2 separate regions of the Homo sapiens genome follow, and region 1 is linked to region 2. The links are contacts of gene promoters, found by promoter capture Hi-C in human tissues and cell types (Jung and others, 2019). All regions are on one chromosome and are shown on one strand. Each heading gives the region's core, a stretch centred on a gene start or on the middle of the fragment in contact. The rest is flanking DNA. Distances are from core to core; before and after follow the strand shown. Region 1 overlaps MYOM2 (myomesin 2). Region 2 holds the start of MYOM2 (myomesin 2).

Region 1 (2,700 bases), core at 33-2,532, 34 kb after region 2:
GCAACTACAGCAAGAAAAACAAACCCTCAAAACGATCTTCTTTTCTCCTGGGACAGCTGATAAGTTTTCCCGCCATGTTGACAAAAACCATTTCCTGCACTGTCTCAGCTAACAATCCACGCTCCTCCCCTCATTACAAAAAGCGCAAACATGAAATTCAAAGCAACGGAACACTTTGGGAATGAGGGTGCATTTGGAAGTGGGGGGTGCAGCTCCTCCTCTGCCCTTCCTTTGGGCTTACGACTTGCCAGCTGTTGCCTGAAGTTGCAGGTTTTCCCATCAGACTTTTGGTTTTGACCTGTTGTTCTCTTCGGCTAAAACAGCCCATGACATGTGGATCAGACAGCTTTCATTAAAAGTGCTGGATACTTAGGAGGAGAGCTGGTTCTTTCCCAGATGAAGGCACCACTCTGGGGTTGAAGTGCTCCCTCCCAACACTGATTTTCTGAACTAGCTCTTTTCTCCTGGGAATTTCATGTGAAGGTTTTTTTCTTACATTTTTCAACCTGTGAAAAACAGAGGTTAATCTTTCCTATATTTCCAGGTTTCTGGTCAGGAATTAATATTTTCAAAAGACTTCTAAATTCCACATGAGAGGCATTCTAGAAAGAAATGTCCTAACATTATTCTAGGAGACTGTAAGCCAGCTTTCCCAGGGACCTGGGCCCTTGGTCTCACAGAGTGGGACGGGAGCTGGAGGCAGAGGGGGCTGAGCCTGTTTCCCCAGCCTGGGCCTCAGACGGGCCAAGCCGCAGCTTAGGGGTGCCGTGACTATGTCACGTAAGTCGGAACAAGAACTGTTCAGGATGCGTCTAAAATAATTTTTTGAGGAGATTTTTGCCTAAATGTGTTTGATGACAGAAATTGATCTTCAGCTATAAATTATTAAGATTCATGGGCATATATTACATATATAATAGATATTACATATAATATATATATTGCATTTTCTAAATAGCTCTGTCTTCTAATGTTTATCTATACAAGTCAATATCTTAGCAGCAAAGATTTTACTGGCGTGAGATATTGTCCTGTTATAATCAGTGTGTGCATATATGCATATACCTATGTATATTTAGTAGGTTGCCACATTTGCTATTCTCTGTTGTTTTTCTTTTTTTAACTTGAAGATGTGAAGTAGGAACGAATAATTGGGTGCAGTGCAATGATGCACCGGTGAAAATCTGCAAATACCCGGTCACAGGGCTTTTTGAAGGAAGGTCTTACATATTCCGAGTGAGGGCAGTGAACAGTGCGGGCATCAGCCGACCCTCCAGGGTCTCTGATGCGGTGGCTGCACTTGACCCCTTGGACCTCAGAAGGTTACAAGGTAAGCTGCTCACGCCTAAGTATCCACTGTGCCCAGGAAGCTTTGGCTGTTTTGTGTGTGATTTGTTGTCTCTTTCCCTCCCAACTCGATGTGAGCCCTGAGAATGCCCTGTGTGCAGAGCATAGCACAGGCTGTTACAACGTTCTCTGACATCTCCACCAACATCACTACAGGAATGAAAACGGGCTGACGTACACTCTAAAATGAATGTGCCTCTCCTCCAGAAAGCTCTTTGCTGGCATCCAGTTAAATTGGCTCAGAATTAGACCTTTTTTTTATTCCATTGGTGATATAATTTCAACACATAATGACACTTAGAAGGCCATCCTATTCTGAGTTTTAATTTTGCATGACACAGATTCCTTAATGGGACTGGGCCCTTCGTTATGGTTGTAAGCGAGCCACTATATTTTCCTTACGCACATGGTCCTTTGCATCCACCACCAAGAGCTGAGAAGTGCTAACTGTTACCAGGACACTTCCAGAATCAGCTCTGATGCCCCCAGAGGACTCACAGGTTGTAGTCCTAATGCAGAGGAGATGCAGAGCTGGCACAGAATGAGGGAAAACGGGCTTTTGGGGAAAACTTCGCATGTCAAATCGAGTGTCAACCTTTCTCTCCGCAGCCGTTCATTTGGAGGGAGAGAAGGAGATTGCCATTTATCAGGATGACCTTGAAGGTAAGTAGCACCTCATCACCCCAGCTGCTCAGCCCCTGGGGATTTGGAGTTGTAATTAGAGATGGGAGAGATGGACAGAGAACGCCCCCTACTGGGCACGGCCTCTGCATGGAAAAATGAAAACCGCAGGTCAGGCCTGCAAGCCCAGTGTCCATAGAAGTTAAAAAAAAGAAAAAATCAAGCAAGACAGAGTGAGAGGGTGGGAGAAAGGGTGAAGGATTGGTGACTCTTAGACTCACCTTTCATTTGGGGTTTACAAAGGCGTTCTTTCAGGGACTTGTAGAGAAGAAACCAAACTAAAGCTCAGACTTGGTTCCTGGGTGATGTAAGATCCTTTCTCACAGATTGCATTGTGAAATCGATTTCATTTTACATTTTCTAAGCAAAAATTTTATTCCTGACATTTTAACTGAAATGGATTGAGTCTTTCCTGCCAAATGATGTTCTTGGTCCTTATGTATATTTGATTTTGTGGATATTTCTTCTTCCTGATTTTCCTTTTAGAGACCTTTAGAAAGAATGACGTGTTAAGGAGAATCCAACATTATTAACTAGAAATCAAAAGGTTTTAACTGGACTTAGAGTTCATAGAGTGCCATGGGTGAAAACATAAAAAGAAAGATTTCAAATCAGTGTGGAGCCACTGGCTAGAGAGAGGTGATTTTGAGCTGCTCGCTAAAATCACAGCCG
Region 2 (2,700 bases), core at 54-2,553:
TGGTACCTGGATCTTGGACTTCCAGTCCCCAGAACTGTGGGAAAGAAGCTCCTGTGTTTTATAAGCTACACGGTCTATGGTGTTTTGCTAAAGCAGCCTGAATAGACTAAGAAATCACTCAACAAACACTAATTAAATTAAATGCTAGGCCATCAGAATACGAAGGGGAAGAAGACAGAAACACTCGCCTCCTGATCCAGCATCCAGAACGCTCTGGGGCCCAGCAAGAGGCTGTGCTCGCGTCTTTCTCGTATCTGATCTTCGCCTCCATCCACCTGCTCGCTGGTCCTTGGCTGTGCCTCTGATACCCCAGTGTGAGAACGTGGAGTTTCTTAAGGCAATTCTCTTATCATATTTTCTCTACTTGTCACAACAAACTTACAGGAAAGTTGTTATTCCATGCGTTTTAGAGCTGGGGAGCATAGCCCCCGTGGGCTGAGCAGCTGGCCGAAGTCCTCAGCCCCTGTGGTGAGGTGCAGCTGGAGTGTGATTCTCCGGGTCCTCAGATGGGGGCATCCCCTTGAGGCCCCGCCTCTTGGCCAGGCTGCAGCCCAGGACCGTGCCAGGTGTGTGTTATCTATATTTGGACACACGCTGTGCGAAACGACGGGCACCCTGCAATTATCCGTGTGGTGTAGACGCAGTGTACGTCTGTGGTAATGGCTATAAATAAGCCCCGACTTGCCGACTAGGCACCGCTCCTCTTTTGGGTAGGCAGTTCTTGCTAAAATAGCCCTAAGATACAATCGAGTGAAGACCTGAGTCGTTCTTGAAATAAAAAAAAAAAAACGAACAAACACACGAACATGCACACACACGCTCACAAACCCAGGGGCTTGTGCACCTCCCTCCCTCCACAGCCGACCTCAACTCGGGTGTCCAGGCCTGCGAATGGCACAAATGCTCACTGAAATCCATGTCATTATTAAAGACTCATTCAGGAGTTGCAATTTGTGAGCCAGGGAACCTGTAGCTCGAAAGGATTGAAGATATGTCTGAGAATTCACACGTAAGGATTAGAACTCATGGAGGAGAGTTGCGGGGAGGGAGCGTGGGAAGTCAGTGCCCTGCCCTCTCTTTCTGGGTCGGGGGCTGAAGTGTCACACCCGGTTTCCTGGGAAAAGTGCAGTTTGGGACTCAGAAAGGACACGTTCCAGTTTTGAATCGTGATTTCCCCCGCCCTCAGTTTGAACAAGAAGCTTTTCCTCCTGAGGTCAGGCTGGTGATTTACGATGTGGGTATTGATGTGGGGAGAGGCAGGCCCAGGCGTCTATATATAGTAGCTCCTCAGACCTTAAACGGGAGGGAGGCACAGGCGCTTGCTTTGCAGGAGTCAGCTCTGCCTTCCTCGGCTGGAGTGTGGGTGGCTTGGTGAGCCGGTGGTCAGGAATTCTCTCTCCTCCTTGCAATTTTCCTTTCTGTCTGGGTAAGTGTCTTTCTCTTCTTGCCTTTTCTAATTTGTGGCTTTAAGGGGAGGACCGGTAACTTCTGCACTCACATTTTCTAAGTACCTCTACTTCAGGGTCAAGAAGAGAGAGCCAGTGCACCCCGTCGCAGGCACCCTTTACTGTGGAAAACAGAGCAATTAGTTCTGGGATCTGTATTTCTTTGACGAGGTTTTATGCTCAACTAACATTTTATTTCCCACAGCCGTGGTCTTTGCTAAGTGCCGTTTAGCACCCTGCGGCGTGTGCTTTGGGTTTTAGCCCTGGTCTCATCGTGGCCCCAGGGGGCCCCCCAGTCAGTGGACTGATGTCTGCAAGTTTCATGAGATTCTCAGAAACGAAAGCCTCCCCCGAGGAGAGGGCTGACTTATAAAGGTGTGAAATAATAAAACTGGATATTTTCTTAAGGGAAAAAAGAGTCGAGGGTCATTCAGCTTAGACCTAGCCTATATTATCCACGGTATGGGAAAGAGAACAATCCTTGTCAGGACTTGCAAGTTTTTGCCCAAAAATGACAGCGTTCTTACGGCTGTTTTCTTCTTTGTGCTGTTGGGTGTGTTGTGACCCTTCAGACTTCTTCAGCTCCACTCCGCTGATAGAGGCTGTGCCTTCTCAGGGCGTGCTCTTGAAATGCAACCTGCTGGAGAAAGACAGTGGGGCTGGGTGGTTGCACGTGGAAGGCACCGGAGGCAAACGGAAGGAAGGGGTTTGCCATCACTGGGAACACCTGGCCTTTTCTAATTCTCCATTTCACATTCCTTTCTTACTAAGTAGAAGTAAAACAGGACTCAAAGAAAGCGTGGAACAAAGATAATTTAAGGCGTTATTTAATAAACCAAGTCCCAAGCTAAAACTTGTCTTGGGAGCCAAGGGCTTAGCCACTTGTGGCACAGGCCAACGCTGCGTGTCTGGGAGTCCCTTTCCCCTCTAGAAAGCTTTAATTTGGTGTATTTATTGACTTTGACATTTTTAACTGTACAAACAATTTCCTTCATTAAGTGGAAGTCAATGTTTTGTACTTCAAACATTTTTGCAAATTAAAACCCATCCTGGTGACATGAGGAATGGGCTCCACACGTTGTTTGCAGGAAGGAATTAGGATGGGGATATCAGACACGTGGTCCCCTGCACTGGAGGAGAGGCTCGCGTTTCATCCTGGTGTCATGATTCCTAAACGTGTCAGGAGCATTCCGGGAGTGGCCGGGGAGCTGGGCTGTGGTGGAAAGTGGGCTGGACGCTGTCAGGAGAGTCAGCT

The links. Contacts are between HindIII fragments. The study calls those that stand out against the background at their distance.
Region 1: a fragment that was not itself captured here is called in contact with the fragment with the promoter of MYOM2 in region 2 in 7 of the 25 tissues and cell types used here (H1 embryonic stem cells, bladder, heart left ventricle and 4 more).

The regions. Positions count from the first base shown.
Region 1 is chr8:2,077,604-2,080,303 of GRCh38, forward strand. MYOM2 (myomesin 2) reads left to right here. Exons shown (of 37, transcript NM_003970.4): 12 at 1,131-1,330; 13 at 1,957-2,010. Among named protein-coding and RNA genes, the nearest start is that of MIR7160, 2.4 kb to the left of the region's middle. The HindIII fragment of the contact is 7,731 bases long and covers 1-2,700 here.
Region 2 is chr8:2,043,743-2,046,442 of GRCh38, forward strand. It overlaps MYOM2 (myomesin 2), which reads left to right and starts at 1,304. Exons shown (of 37, transcript NM_003970.4): 1 at 1,304-1,426. The HindIII fragment of the contact is 6,844 bases long and covers 1-2,700 here.